Linked DNA regions of Homo sapiens: region 2 is linked to region 1. Evidence: promoter capture Hi-C in human tissues and cell types (Jung and others, 2019). All regions are on one chromosome and are shown on one strand. Each heading gives the region's core, a stretch centred on a gene start or on the middle of the fragment in contact. The rest is flanking DNA. Distances are from core to core; before and after follow the strand shown.

The links. Contacts are between HindIII fragments. The study calls those that stand out against the background at their distance.
Region 2: the fragment with the promoter of FBXO27 here is called in contact with the fragment with the promoter of FAM98C in region 1 in 1 of the 25 tissues and cell types used here (heart left ventricle).

The regions. Positions count from the first base shown.
Region 1 is chr19:38,398,256-38,406,196 of GRCh38, reverse strand. It overlaps FAM98C (family with sequence similarity 98 member C), which reads right to left and starts at 3,104. Exons shown (of 8, transcript NM_174905.4): 1 at 2,979-3,104; 2 at 2,711-2,859; 3 at 2,503-2,637; 4 at 1,084-1,289; 5 at 776-853; 6 at 562-678. The coding sequence starts at 3,043. SPRED3 (sprouty related EVH1 domain containing 3) reads right to left here. Exons shown (of 6, transcript NM_001394336.1): 6 at 6,610-7,941. RefSeq lists silencers at 2,598-2,797, 2,988-3,317, 5,880-6,038. The HindIII fragment of the contact is 13,651 bases long and covers 1-7,941 here.
Region 2 is chr19:39,029,422-39,037,362 of GRCh38, reverse strand. FBXO27 (F-box protein 27) reads left to right here and starts at 4,814. Exons shown (of 6, transcript NM_178820.5): 1 at 4,814-4,860; 2 at 5,110-5,499; 3 at 6,043-6,154; 4 at 6,239-6,334. The coding sequence starts at 5,136. RefSeq lists silencers at 5,036-5,105, 5,166-5,315, 5,516-5,595, 5,746-5,985, 5,835-6,017 and enhancers at 4,927-5,719, 6,126-6,235. The HindIII fragment of the contact is 13,585 bases long and covers 1-6,298 here.

The sequences.
Region 1 (7,941 bases), core at 1,855-4,354:
AAAGCAAAACTCCGTCTCAAAAAATAAAAAATAAAAAAAAAAGGCTGGGTGCAGTGGCTCATGCCTGTAATCCTAGCACTTTGGGAGGCCAAGACAGGCAGATCACAAGGTCAGGAGATCGAGACCATCCTAGCCAACATGGTGAAACCCTGTCTCTACTAAAAATACAAAAATTAGCTGGGCATGGTGGCATGTGCCCGTAATCCCAGCTACTCAGGAGGCTGAGGCAGGAGAATCACTTGAACCCGGGAGTCGGAGGTTGCAGTGAGCTGAGATCGCACCACCACACTCCAGCCTGGCAACAGAGTGAGACCCCGTCTCAAAAAAAAAAAAAAAATGATGGGGTATGCCTCTGAATATACTGCCAGCTCAGAGCTGGGAATTCAACAATACCCTGGGACCCTGAGATTCTAGGAGCCCCAAACCTCAAAAAATTATAAAATGTCCATGGCCTGAGAACCTGCAAGAGGGTGATACTCCTGGCCCTCATTCCTCCTCCCTGCAACTGCAGCCCCCACAACTGGGCCTCTCCAATTCTGCATGGTCCCCTGCCCACCACACCTCTGCCCGGTCACTCCAGTGGAAAGCAGATGTAGTGAGGTCAAGGCGCTTGAGGAGGAGGCAGCGGCGGCAGCGGTACTGATCTCTGAGGCTTTGGGACAGAGACTCCAACGCTTCCTGGGAGAAAAGGTCTCAAGGTCAGGCTAGGGGTCCCTCTCACTGCCACCTCTGATGAGGACACAGTTCACATTCAGTCAGTCGCACACAGTCTTACCCATCTGGGTGCATCTAGCGAGCAGCTGAGGAGGGGCTGCAGGGACCCTGGGGGCAGAGAAGGCTGCAGCTCTGAGATCTGATGGGAGAAGAAGTCAGAGGCCAACTGGGGCAGAGAGGATGGGCCCCTCTGTAAACTCAGCTCCCCACACCCCTGAGGACCTAGGCCACAGATGTGAGAATGCCAGTCACAGCTCCAGAAAAAACAGGCCAGTGGTTGGAATACTCCTTCCAGAAGTGGAGAGAGGACCCCCACCCCCACAAGGAAAGTGGGGTAGCCCAGGTCGGGAGGGGACTCTGACTCTCTACCTTAGCATGCAACTCCTGCAGCAGCTGGCTGGCGGGGGTCCCTGGTGCAGGTCTGGGCAGCCCCAGGGCTTGGAGGGTAAGGTCCAGTTCTTGGACCATGCCGGCTCCCTCCACTACCCCTTCACCAAGGGGTGGCCTAGGACTCGGATCCAGCAGAGAGCGGAGGCACAGGAGGCGGGTGGCTTGGAGCTCTGAGCAGAGAAAGCCTGAAAGTAATAAATGGGTGCTGTGCACTCAGGGAGGCTGCTACCCACTCATCCATCTTGGTCAAAAAGCTCCACTGATGGCCGGGTGCGGTGGCTCACACCTGTAATCCCAGCACTTTGGGAGGCAGAGGCGGGCGGATCACGAGGTCAGGAGATGGAGACCAGCCTGGCCAACATGGTGAAACTGTGTCTCTACTAAAAATACAAAAATTAGCAGGACATAGTGGTGAGTGCTTGTAATCCCAGCTACTCGGGAGGCTGAAGCAGGAAAATCGCTTGAACCAGGAAGTTGGAGGTTGCAGTGAGCTGAGATCATGTCACTGTACTCCAGCCTGGCAACAGGGCGAGACTCCATTTCAAAAAAAAAAGAGGCTCCACCGGCTTTAAAACCTCCACCTTTGCCCAGGCACAGTGGCTCATGCCTGTAGCCTGTAATCCCAACACCTTGGGAGGCTGAGGTGGGAGGATCGCTTGAAGCCAGGAGTTGAAGACCAGACAGGGCAACATAGGGAGACCCCACCTCCACTTAAAAACAAAACAAAACAAAATCCTCCACCTTCTAGTCCCCCCCACCTAAAGCCTTCCAGAGTAAGCCCCACCTTGAGACCCTGTCCCCTCCTACGAATTCCACTCCTGCCCACTTTGAAACCTCAAGCCTTCCTCCTAATCCAACCCACTTGAGCTCCTAGGCCCTCCAATTAAAATTCTAACCCCGGGCCGGGCGTGGTGGGCTCACGCCTGTAATCCCAACACTTTGGGAGGCCGAGGTGGACAGATCACCTGGGGTCAGGAGTTCGAGACCTGCCTGGCTAACATGGTGAAACCCCGTTTCTACTAAAAATAGCCGAGTGTGGTGTCGCGCGCCTGTAATCCCAGCTACTCGGGAGGCTGAGGCAAGAGAATCACTTGAACCTGGGAGGTGGAGGTTGCAGTGAGCCGAGATCACGCCACTGCACTCCAGCTTGGGTAACAAGAGTGAAACTCCATCTCAAAAATAATAATAATAAAATAAATAAAAAATAAAACGAAATTCTACCCCCGCCCATTTTAGAGCGCTCTGCTTGCCCCAACATGCTCACCCCACCCACCTCGTACCCTCTGGGCCGCCCCAAAGTTCTGACCACACCCCTTGGGAACCTCGATTTCCCCTAAAAAGTCAGAGCCCGCCGCTCCGGAGGCCATGGCCTTGCCACTTCTGCATCCCGGGACTCACGCAGCAGGCGCAGTCCGGCACCGGGTTCCCGAAGCGCAGCCGCGCCATCCCCGCCGCAGAGCGCGCGATCCGGGCAGTGCAGCTCCCGCAGCAGGCTGCCGAGCTGCCGCAGAAAGTCCTCCTCCGCGCCAGGGCCTGCGAGGACAGGGGTGTCAGGGCTCGGTGGCCCCGTGGCGGCCCCCCTGCCACCCTCCCGCTCCGTGTTTACCGTCGCCGGCGCTCAGCACCTCCGCGCCCGCCTCTCGCTGCTGCTCGAGGGCGCCCAGCGTCGCCAGCTCCGCCGCCAGCCGCACGCACAGCCCCCTGAAGTCTGGGCATGAGGCGCCCCGCGACGCCGCCCCCGGGACACCTCCATACCTGTGGGGACCGAGGCAGCGGGAGGGGGCGGGGATGTCACTGGGAATCCCTTTTCGTCCGCGTCCAGGGGGCAGACCTGGCCTTCCTGCACCCACCAGCCTCACCGCACACCCTTTTACCCCAGAGCCAGCAGGTCCTGGGCCACCGCGGCCCCCTCCCACGCTTCCGCCTTCACCGCCTCCATGAAAGTGTGGTCTCGGCGCGCCCCCTGGCGGCCGGTGGCAGGCTCCGCCCCAAAAGCGCCGCGCGCACGAGCTCCCCGCAGCGTCCGGCGGCACTGACCAATCGGCATCTTCCCGCGCAGGGGCTTGGGTGCTCCCATTGGCGCAGGAGGACGCCGAACCCGCCCCGGGGCCCGCCCGCCCCGCCCCTCGGCTAACCTGTCGGGGTTGTAGGAACGCCCCCTGGAGCTGTAAATTGCAGTGCGTTCGGGATCTCCGCTGTCAAGACAAGCTGGCGGCGGGTGTCACTGTTGCGGCGACATAAAAACAACTTCGGTGCCATTTTCCTTTTCCTCCCTCAGTTGTCTTCTGCTGGTGTTTTGTTGGTTTGTTTTTGAGGCAGATTTCGCTCTATCGTTCAGGCTGGACTGCAGTGGCGCCATCGCGGCTCACTGCAGTCTCGACCTTCTGGGCTCAAGAGATCCTCCCGCCTCAGCCTCCCAGCTAAATTTTTAAAAATCAGTCAGCCTTGGTGGCTTACACCTAGTAGCTGGGACCACAGGCGCAGACCACCGCGCCTGGCTGATTTGTTTTTAATTTTTTTGTAGAGACAAGGTTTCCTCATGTTGCCCAGCCTGGTTTCCAACTGCTGGGTTCAAGCGATCCGCCTGCCTCGGCCTCCCAAAGTGCTGGAATTACAGGCGTGAGCCACTGCAACCGGCCAATTTTTTTTTTTTTTTAAAGTTTTGTAGAGGCCGGGCACGGTGGCTCACGCATGTAATCCCAGCACTTTGGGAGGCTGAGGTGGGTGGATCACTTGAGGTCAGGAGTTCGAGACCAGCCTGGGCACATGGTGAAACCTCATCTCTAATAAAAATACAAAAATTAGCCGGGCGTGGTGGCACACGCCTGTAGTCACCACTATTTGGGAGGCTGAGGCAGGAGAATTGCTTGAGCCCGGGAGACACAGACTGCAGTGAGCCAAGATCGCGCCACTGCACTCCAGCCTGGGGACAGAGCAAGACTCCGTGTCAAAAAAGAAATAAAGTTTTGTAGAGAGGGGTCTAGCTATGTCGCCCAGGTTTGCCTCTAACTCCAGTGTTCAAGCAATCCTTCCCTCTCAGCCTTCCAAAGCTTGGGATTACAGGCTTGAGCCAGTGTTCCTGGCCCTGTCCTCTGCTCTTAAAGCAGCCCAGACGGAGTGGTGTTCACCCAACTCTGCCTAAAATCCAAAACTTCCTCCCTCCTTTCCACCTCAGGGTTTGAATTACATAAGGGACCCAGGAATCCCAGCACACCCCTCACACACCAGGCCCTCCTCATCGATCACGATGTGCCTGTTAGGCCTTCACTCCTCTCCCTCTTAGGCCTTGGAGTGAGCAGGTGCAATGCACCATAGTGGTTAAGAGATTACACCCTAGGAATCAGGCAAAGGGTTAGGGCTTGATTCTGTTACTCGCCAGCTCCATGTTCCTGCCAAATTGCTTCCCATCTGTATAATGGGGATAATAGTACCTACCTCTTAGAGTTGTTGCTGAGGATTAATTAGAGTTTCATATGTAAAAAGTGCTTAGCAGATATATAGGGAGTACTTAATAAGGAATAACTAATATATATACAGCATTTAATGTGTACTATTGGGCGAAGTATCTTATCTCTTTTACAGAAGAGAAAACTAAGGTTGAGAGAAGATAAGTCACAGAGTGAATTCATGGTGATGCCAAGGCTTGAAGATGAAATTCCAGACTCTATACTCTTAAACCACGGAACCTATTTCCACTGTTACTACTGCTGTTGTTTTGTTGCTGTTGCTAAGTAAACATTGTGTCAGATCTAATCTCTTCCTTACTGTATCCTGGTATCCAGTAGTTCCTAGACAATTCTGCTGGAAGTTGGGGGTGGACCAGGAGCCTGGAGGGAAGAACAGGGGTAGAACTTGTTCCTTAAGGGCAGATACGAGTAACCCCATAACCCTGTTTACCCCAAGGCAGGACACTTGGGGGGCTATTTTTTGACATAAATCAAATGTTAAAAATTGCCCAGAGGTGGGCCACAGTGGCTCACACCTGTAATCCCCGCCTTTCAGGAGGCTGAGGTGGGAGGATCGCTTGAGCCCAGGAGTTTAAGACCAGACCAGGCACCATAGTGAGAACATGTCTCTACAAAAACATTTTTAAAATTAGCCAGGCTTGGTGGTGTGCACCTGTAATCCCAGCTACTCGGGATGCTGAGGTGGGGGGATCACTTGGGCTCATGAGTTTGAGGCTGCAATGAGCAGTGATCATGCCACTGCACTCCAGCCTGGGTGATGAACTCAATTTAAAACAAAAAAAAAAATTGCTCCAGCCAAAAACCTGGACTTACTATCTTGACTCCTCTATCTCAAATCCCATACATAAATCTGTGGGTTCTATTTACAAAGTAGGCCCAACACCTGCCCACTTCTCCACCCTTCAGGGCCCTCACCCTGGGCCTGTCCGCTGCTGTCTTGTCCTGAACCATCACAGCAGCCTCCTCTCTGTGAAGCTGTCCCCCACCCCACTCCTACTCTGCTGACCACATGCAGCAGAAGGAGCCTGTGAACTGAGTCAGGTCACATGCCTCCCATGTTTGAAATTTCCTGTGGCTCCGTCTCACTCAGGGTAAAAACCTAAGTCCATTCAATGCCCTTCAAGGCCTGACAGATCTGCCCCATCGCCTCTCTGCCCTCATCTCCTAGCGCTCTCTTCTCTGCTTCCTCCCCTCTCAACACTCTAGCTCCCTGAAGCTCCTCAGACTTACCGGACACACTCCTGTCTCAGGGCCTTGCACTGGCTGTTCCCTTTACTTAAAATACCCTTCCCTGCAGACATCCCCAGAACTCCCTCACCTCCGTCAGGGCTTTGTTCAAATGCCAGCTCCTGGCTAGGCACAGTGGCTCACACCTGTAATCACTTGGGAGATTTCCACCTGGAATCACTTGGGAGACCAAGGCAGGTGGATCACTTGAGGTCAGGAATTCGAGACCAGCCTGGCCAAAATGGTGAAACCCTGACTCCACTAAAAATACAAAAATTAGCCGGGCGTTGTGGCACCCACCTGCAGTCCCAGCTACTCAGGAGCCTGAGGCAGGAGAATCACTTGAACCCAGGAGGCAGAGGCTGCAGTGAGCAGAGATCATGCCACTGCACTCCAGCTTGGGTGACCGAGTCAGACTCTGTCTCAAAACAACAAATGCCAACTCCTGAGGAGGGTCTAACCTGGCCACTCTAGCTAAAATGGCATGTATCCCCCATTCCCACTTTTTTTTTTCTTTCTGCTTTCTATCATTTCTAACATATTAAGTCATTTACTTATTGTCTCCCCTACTATAAAGCTCATAAGCTCTTTGCAGGAGGGACTTTTGTCTGTTCTGCCCACTGCTTTATCTCCAGTGCTTTCAACAGGGCTTGGCACATAATTAGGTGCTCAATAAATGCATTTGTTGAGTGTCTTATAAAACTCAGCTTGAGGGTCTGATGGGAGAAGGGAGAATTTAAGTAGGAGACTGGTTTAGCAGTTCAGGAAGGTGAGTGGGTGGGGTGCACAGAGGCAAATAAATAACACAGGCTGAGACTTTGTCACAGACATTTCTTGGAGCAGATCTCGTGCCCCCTCCCCCGATGACAAGGCTGGGTCTTTGGCCCCCATCCTCCCCCACCACTTCAGCCTGCACTGACACTAACAATATTGAGGTCACAGACTGGCTTAGAAACAAGATCAGGAAGATATATGTTGGGGTGCCTCCCCCAAATCTGGGGGCCAAGCATCCGATCTGAGGGGCAAGCGGCTGGGAAATTGGGCCTGGGGGCTCCAGGGTCTGAGGTCTGCCTGGCTCCCAGGGCGGCCCTCCATGTACCCCTGATTTGGGGGCAATGAAGGGGAATCATGGATCAGAGGTGGGTCTCAGCAGGGAGCAGGACTGGGGGACCTGGGAGAGGCGCTGCTGGGAAGTGGCGGCCAGGGGACCTTTCCTTAGCCCCCACCGCTTCATCTGCAGATCCCACAGCACCGTACAGCACTCTGGTCCCCCGTCCCACCCCTCCCCAAAACGAGGTAGGTTAAGAATGGAGCTTCCCCCCCGCCCACCATGGAAGGGGGGAGACCGAGGCACAGAGAGGGGCATGGGGACCCAGGCTGCCCCAGCCCCCAATCCCTCCGCCCTCAGCTCTGGTGGGTCTGACAGTGATGAGAGCTGGGCAGAGTGGGGAGGGGAGAGACACCCCCGCTTTTCTCTCACCCATCCCAGGGTCTGGTTGGGAGTGCTGAATCTCACAGGTTCCGGATGTAATAAATAGTTAATAATTTAAAGGAAGAGACAGAGGACCTATCCCTTGAACCCCAACAAGGCCATCCAAGTCTGGGTAATGAAGAAAGGTTAAGTGCACAGTTCCAGATGCTTGGGGCCAGATGCAGGTCCCAAGCCCATACAACATTGAGACTGTCTTGCTCCAAGACCTTGAGGCCCCCATACAGGACACCAGATCTTCGATCCACTGGAAGCCCCATTTCACTTGGGGGAAAAAAGCCTGTGGCACCCCCCTTTGCACAGAAGAGACTCAGTGGGCCATGAAACAGGCTTTCAAACTTCCTGAAGCAACTTCTCACTCTAAAGTGGAAGAGAGCCAGGTGCAGTGGCTCATGCCTGTAATCCCAGCACTTTGGGAGGCTGAGGCAGGTGGATCATGAGGTCAGGAGTTTGAGACCATCCTGGCCAACATGGTGAAACCCTGTCTCTACTCAAAATACAAAAAATTAGCTGGGTGTGGTGGCACATGCCTGTTATCCCAGCTACTCGGGAGGCTGAGGCAGACGAATGGCTTGAACCCGGGAGGGGGAGGTTGTGGTGAGCCGAGATTGTGCCACTGCACTCCAGCCTGGGTGATACAGCGAGACTCTGTCT
Region 2 (7,941 bases), core at 3,565-6,064, 630 kb before region 1:
TCTGCAAAAAAAATTTTAAAATTACCCAGACATGGTGGGACTATAGCTGTGCCTATAATCCCATGTATTCGAGAGGCTGAGATGGGAGGATCACTTGAGGCTGGGAGGTCACAGCTGCAGTGACCTGACTCATGCCTGCAATCCCAGCACTTTGAGAGGCTGAGGTGGGAGGATGGCTTGAGCCTGGGAGGTCAAGTCTGCAGTGAGCCAGGATCACACCACTGCACTCCAAACTGGGTGACAGAGTGAGACTTCATCTCAAAAGAACTTTATAAAATTTTTAACAAGTGAAGGGACAAGTGAAACTTTCCATCCACCGTCTCTGAAGGCTTGATAATTTGAGTCTCTGAAATAAACTTGACAGTAGACAAATGAACTAGAGAAAAGGCACACAAATCCATTATGTGCACACACAGAGAAACCCCACAAAGTATGAGATTCAAAGAAGGTCCAGATGGTTGAAGCTTAAATAGCATTTTGAGATACAGAAATAGATAGGGGCTAGGAGGCTTCTGGACCATGGTGGTGACAAGCTAAGGTAGGGTGAAGGGCAGAACTGCACTAAGAACAAAGGTCATCTTATTTGCAGATAAAGTCTCTCAGGTAGCAGCCCTCAGAGAGATGGGTGAATCCTGTCTGGGTGTGGTGTCTTTGGGGTGGACACCAAGAGTCTTGCCCTTGGGAGGAGAACCAGGGACTGGAAAAGGACACTGACTTTTCAGTATCTGCCCTTTTGACCTACTTGGAATTTTTTTTTTTTTTTTTTTTTTTTTGAGATGGAGTCTTGCTCTGTCACCCAGGTTACAGTGCAGTGGCTCAATCTCAACTTACTCCAACCTCCGCTTCCCAGGTTTGAGCGATTCTCCTGCCTCAGCCTCCTGAGTAGCTGGGACTATAGGTGTGTGCCACCACACCCAGCTAATTTTTTTATTTTAAGTAGAGATGGGGTTTCACCACGTTGGCCAGGCTGGTCTCGAACTCCTGACCTCAAGTGATCTGCCTGCCTCGGCCTCCAAAAGTGCTGGGATTACAGGCATCAGCCACAGTCCCTGGCCAACCTACTCAAACTTTTTAAACCTTTTAACTGTTAAAAAAAAAATCAGGCCAGGTGCAGTGGTTCATGCCTGTAATCCCAGCACTTTGGGAGGCCAAGGCGGGAGGATCACCTGAGGTCAGGAGTTTGAGATCAAGCCATTGCATTCCAGCCTGGATGACAAAGTGAAAAAAGTTTTTAAAAAAGTCAAATACTTGAGTCATCATATCTCATTATCAACAAGATTCCCACTGCTTATATATTACATTAAAACTAATATATTAGTTTTAGTGGGCACAGTTGCTCATGCCTATAATCCCAGCACTTGGGGAGGTGGAGGCGAGAGGACCACTTGAGCTCAGGAGTTTGAGACCACCCTGGGCAACAGCAAGACCTTGTCTCTCCTTTAGTCCCAGCTACCCCAGAGGCTAAGGCAGGAGGATGGCTTGACTCCAGGAGTTTGAGGCTAAAGTGAGCTACGACAGAGTGAGACCTGGTCTCAAATATATATATATAAACAGTTTTTTTTAGACAAATTTTCACTCTTGTCGCCCAGGCTGGAGTGCAATGGTGGGATCTCAGCTCACTGCAACCTGTGCCTCCTGGGTTCAAGTGATTCTTCTGCCTTAGCCTCCTGAGTAGCTGGGACTACAAGTGCGCACCACCATGCCCACCTAATTTTTTTTTTTTTTTTTTTTGGTATTTTTAGTAGAGTTGGGGTTTCACCATATTGGCCAGGCTGGTCTCGAACTCCTGGCCTCGTGATCTGCCACCTCGGCCTCCCACAGTGCTGGGATTACAGGCATAAGCCACTGCACCTAGGTTTTTGTATTTTTAGTAGGGACGGAGTTTTACCATGTTGGTGAAGCTGGTCTCAAACACTTGACCTCAGGTGATCCACCTGCCTCGGCCTCCCAAAGTGTTGGGATACAGGTGTGAGCCACCGTGTCCAGTTGAAACAAAATTTTAAAAATGAAAATATACATATTGAGAAGAAATTAGACCAGCATAATAGTTCATCCATCTCTCCTAATTCAGGGTCTCCCTCTCCTATCCACCCAACCCAGCCTCGTTATGCCCCATTTCCCTTCTCTGCTCTAATTTTTCACAGCACTAATCACTTTTTAACACACACACACTTATTATGTTTACTGTTCATCATGACAGAAGCACATTACAGGCTAGTTTGAAGTGTATACACTAATACAACCGTTTCATTCTTTTTTTTACTTGTTTTCTTTTTCTTTTTCTTTTTTTTTTTTTTTTTTTTTTGAGACAGGGTCTCGATGTGTAGCCCAGGCTGAAGTGCAGTGGCATGATCACAGCTCACTGCAGCCTCAACCTCCCAGGCTCAAGCCATCCTCCCACCTCAGCCTCCCAAGTAGCTGAGACTACAGGTGCACACCACTATTTGCAGCTACTTTTTAAATTTTTTGTAGAGACGGGGTTTCACTGTGTTGCCAGCGCTGGTCTCAAACTCCTGGGCTCAAGAGATCCTCCTGCCTCGGCCTCCCAAAGTGCTGGGATTACAGGTGTGAGCCCCCATGCCAGGACCCATTTAATTCTTTTCTGCATTTGTGGAGAGGATTCTAAGAGGGTCAAAAGGAGGTTTTATTTATTTTATTTATTTAAGACAGCTTCTCACTCTGTCGCCTAGGCTGGAGTGCAGTGGTGAGGTCTCAGCTCACTGCAACCTCTGCCTCCCTTGTTGAAGTGATTCTCATGCCTCAGCTTCCCGAGTAGCTGGGATCACAGGCATGCGCCACCATGCCCGGCTAATTTTTGTATTTTCAGTAGAGACGGAGTTTCGCCATTTTGGCCAGGCTGGTCTCACACTCCTGACCTCAAGTGATCCGCCTGCCTCAGCCTCCCAAAGTTCTGGGATTACAGGCGTGAGCCATCATGCCCGGCCTGGAGGTTTTATATTTAATTATTTCCCTGATACTACGTAATTTGCTCATTATGCCAACTGTTTATCATGTCTCTCCCTCTAGAAGGTAAGTTCTTTGTGGGGAAGAATCCATGTCTGGTTTTGTTTGTTGATGTCTTAAACTATGTATACAGCTCACGTTATGTCGAAGCCAAATAAAATATAGAGATATAGAGACAAATCTCTCGATTTAAAATGTTTTGTTGCGGTGGCTCATGCCTGCGATCCCAGCACTTTGGGAGGCTGAGGCGGGCAGATCACCTGAGGTCGGGAGTTTGAGACCATCCTGGCCAACATGGTGAAACCCCGTCTCTACTAAAAATACAAAAATTAGCTGGGCATGGTGGCATGCGCCTGTAATCCCAGCTACTCGGGAGGCTGAGGCAGGAGAATCGCTTGAACCCATGAGGCGGAGGTTGCAGTGAGACGAGATTGCATCACTGCCCTCCAGCCTGGGCGACAGAGCGAGACTCTGTCTCAAAAAAATAATAAAATGTTTTATTTGGGAAGCAAGAATTGACATTCGAGGCATCCACACAGACCAGGCGGTCTTCAGAACTTTCAAAGAACAAAGAGGTTAGAGGTTTTTATAAGAAACAGAAATGTTAGGTATTGTTTTGCAAGAAAGTTCATTGACACTAGCAACGTTCTGGGGAGCTGGCAAGTTCTGACTGGTAAGTGACAGCAGAGGGAAAAACTAGTCTTAGAGTCACGGCAGGTTTTTTCAGTACCAGTTAGACTGCTTCCAGGTTACAACAGGCAGTTTTAACAGCCAGGCTTGCAGAGAATCACTTTCTTGGAGCAATGGTATCTGCCCTAAGTGTTTTCCCCCCGGCCTCTCAACTTTGTTTTAGTTGGATATGACAAGAAGGATCCAATTCACATGATCAACTTTCACAATTTTTTTTTTCTGTTTGTTTTTTGAGACGGAGTCTCACTCACTCTTTTGCACAGGCTGGAGTGCAGTGGTGCAATCTCTGCTCACTGCAACCTCCCCCTCCCGGATTCAAGCAATTCTCCTGCCTAAGCCTCCAAATTAGCTGGGATTACAGGCGCGTGCTACCACGCCCAGCTAATTTTTGTATTTTTAGTAGAGACGGGGTTTCACCATGTTGGCCAGGCTGGTCTCGAACTTCTGACCTCAAGCGATCCGCCTGCCTTGGCCTCCCAAAGTGCTGGGATTACGGGCATGAGTCACCGCACCCAGCCACAATTGTATTTTTATTGGACAGAGCTGATCTAGAGGTTAAAATGAGGAATTCCGGAGCTAGGCTGGCTGGATTCAAATCCCTACTAGCTGGTGATCATAGACAAGCCACTTGGCCTCTGCTGGTCTCAGTTTTTTCACCTGTGAAGTAAAGGGCATAACAGCACCTACTTCATGGGGTTGCCACCCTGGCTGGCAGTAAAACCGTCCATAAAAGTTGGCTGGTGTTACTATTGGTTGCATTAATTTTTAGCAGCCGGAGCCTGTTTTCTCCTGTGAAATGAAGATAACCACGCCCGACCTTAAAGGTGATGGAAATTTTTTAACACGTTAACGGATACGAGGCCTCCCACTCAGAAGCCTGACCAAAATAACAATGGTTGCTCAGAGCCAGACGTCTCATTGCTACTAACGAATTAGGGACACTTCAAGGGGCCGGCTGGAGGGGACGGCTGTGAGCAGCAGGCCTTGGCTCCTGGCTGCACCTGGCCCCGTCGCGGGAAGCAGGTTGGGTTTGGAGAGCGGGAGGGAGCAGGCGGGAGGGGCTGGCGAGTAAGAAAGAGGATGCAGGGGTGGGTGAAGCTGGCTAGTAAGAGGGGAGGGGCCGGCGAGTAAAAAGGACGCAGAGGGGCGTGGGGAGCTTGCGGCACAGCTAGGGCATCCCGGCGAGGAGCGCCGCCAGGCCCCGGGGTAGGACTTGGGGTGCGGTGTCGGTGCGGCCGCCGAGGGGGGCTGATTGCATGCAATTCGGGGCATACACACAGACCGCGGGGTCTCCGGGATATCGGGGCTATCAAGGACGGGCTGGGGGATGGGGACTTGGGGACGGGGCCCAGGGATGGTGAAGACGGGGGTGCGGCTGGCAGAATCAGGGCAGGCAGAGGCTGCGCGCCGCGGAGGCTGCTGGTCCCTGACGCCTTGACCCTTCCTCTCCCGCAGCCACAGCCGGGCCTGGCGGGGGGACCATGGGCGCCTCGGTCTCCAGGGGCCGGGCCGCCCGGGTCCCCGCGCCGGAGCCGGAACCCGAAGAGGCGCTGGACCTGAGCCAACTACCCCCAGAGCTGCTTCTGGTGGTGCTGAGCCACGTCCCCCCGCGCACGCTGCTCGGGCGCTGCCGCCAAGTGTGCCGGGGCTGGCGAGCCCTGGTGGACGGCCAGGCCCTGTGGCTGCTGATCCTGGCCCGCGACCACGGCGCCACCGGCCGCGCGCTGCTGCACCTCGCCCGCAGCTGCCAGTCTCCCGCCCGTAACGCCAGGCCTTGCCCCCTGGGCCGCTTCTGCGCGCGCAGACCCATCGGACGCAACCTTATTCGCAACCCCTGCGGCCAAGGTGGGATCTCGGAAGAGGAAGTCCAGGATGCTGGGCCACAGTGGGAGCGGTAGCGGGGCCGGAGGGGCGGGGCCGCACTGGGACCGGTACTAGGGGCCGCAGGGGCAGGGCCGCAGTGGGACCGGTGGGAGGAGTCGGAGAGGCGGGGCAGCATTGGGAGCCGGTGTGAGGTGCCGGAGGGGCGGGGCAGCATTGGGAGCCGGTGGGAGGTGTCGGAGGGACGAGGCAGCATTGGCACGCAGGGTGCAGGGCTGACTGGGCAGGGCTTCACCGTTTGCCTGTGGGAGGGGTGGGAGTGGGGCAGTTCTGGGAGCCCGAGAGAGGGGTTGGAGGGGCAGGGCTTTGCTGCAAATCAGTGAGAAGGGCCAGAGGAGCGGGGCTTTGCCCTGAGCTGGTGGGAGGGGAAGGGGGCGGGGCCTCGGTGGGAAGGGTCAGGTGAGTGAGCTGCACTGTGAGCACGTGGGAGGGGCTAGGGGCGGGGTCTCACTAGGAACCAACAGGCGGGCGACTGGAACTTGGGCACAAGCCTTTTTTATTTCACAGAAGGCCTCCGAAAGTGGATGGTGCAACACGGTGGGGACGGCTGGGTGGTGGAGGAAAACAGGACAACCGTGCCTGGGGCCCCTTCTCAGACGTGCTTCGTGACTTCATTCAGGTGAATGCCCCTGCTATCCAAAGGTCCGGCCCCTTGTTGAGAAAGGCCTGCCTGTTCTCATTACCCTGTCTCCTGCATTCCCAGCTGGTGTTGCAAGAAGCAGGTCTTGGACCTAGAGGAGGAGGGTCTGTGGCCAGAACTGCTGGATAGTGGCAGGATTGAGATTTGTGTCTCTGACTGGTGAGTGTGACGATTAAAATAGCCCCTTGCTAAGCACTGACTGCATGTGACATGGCCTTTTTATGGGTGACTTAATTTAGGCCTCCTAACCCCTCCTTACAGATAAAAAATCTGAAGTTCAGGCCAGCCATGGTGGCTCACACCTATAATCCCAGCACTTTGGGGGGTCGAGGCAGGCAGATCACTTGAGGTCAGGAGTTCGAGACCAGCCCAACCAGCATGGCAAAACCTCGTCTCTACTAAAAATACAAAAAAAAAATTAGCCGGGCCTGGTAGTGCACACCTGTAGTCCCACATACTTGGGAGGCTGAGGCAGGAGAATCACTTGAACCCAGGAGGTGGAGGTTGTACCACTACACTCCAGCCTGGACGACAGAGTGAGACTCAGTCCTGGAAAAAAAAAAGAAAGAAAAGAAACTGAAGTTCAGGGAGGTGAAGTGAAAAACACACTCACAGTTCTAGTAATTAGCAGAGTACACACTTTCTGCTCATGCCCAAAAGGATGTGGATTGGAAGACAGAAGATGAGATCCAGTACAGAGACCTTTGGCCCAGCTCAGTCTTGTCTGTGAATGAATGAGATGCTCCTTGCCTTAGGAGGAGAAAACAGCATAGTTAGCCAAGAGCTTAGGTTCTGGAGCCAGACCTCCCAGATTCAAACCCTAGCTCTGTGGCTTTGTAGCCTTGGGCAAGTCACAGCATACCTCTGTTTCCCCTGTTTACAAGATAGGGCTCTTGCAATGACAATTATTATATGGCAAACACATAGCAAGTACTTTATGTGAGCACCTTTTTTTGAACCTTGATCCTGTGGGAAGGTGTATTTCAAGCCCTCAGATCATTCAGAGCTTCTCAGGAAATTGAGAGGTTGGGAAAGGGGAGATGGCAGTCTGGGCACGGTGGCTCATGCCTGTAATCCCAGCACTCTGGGAGGCCGAGGTGGGCAGATCTCTTGAGCTAAGGAGTTCGAGACCAGCCTGGCCAGCATGGCAAAACCCATCTCTACTAAAAATACAAAAAATTAGCTGGGCGTCATGGTAAGTGTCTGTAGTCCCAGCTACTCAGGAGGCTGAGGCAGGAGAATCACTTGAACCCGGGAAGTGGAGGTTGCAGTGAGCTGAGATGGCACCACTGCACTCCAGCCTGGGCAACAGAGCGAGACTCCATCAAAAAAAGAAAGGGGAGATGACTTGCCCTGGTCTGGTCACACAGCCTGGGCTTGGCAGAACCTGGCATAAGGCTCAGAGTCAGATTCTGACTCCAGAGCTTGTCCTCTGTAGTGATGGTCTTGAAACTGGGGTGCATGAAGACTTTCCAGGGGATATATGACCCAGATGGTTTTATGGGAGTCAAATTCCAGGTCCACTACAGCCATGAGCCCCCTATTACACAATTAATCTGCTATAGGTTACATCTGTGTGGGAAGTATCATATGATTCTCGTTCCCCAATCTCTTTCTCAGTGTCCCCCTTCTCTAGTTTTATAGGAAAAAAGCCCCTCACTAAGGTGTGGTCCCCAGATGTAAGGACTACTGGGGAGCCAGGCAAAGTGGCCATTGGAAATTTGGGGCCTTAGCAAATTCACTTTTTTTTTTTTTTTTTTTGAGAC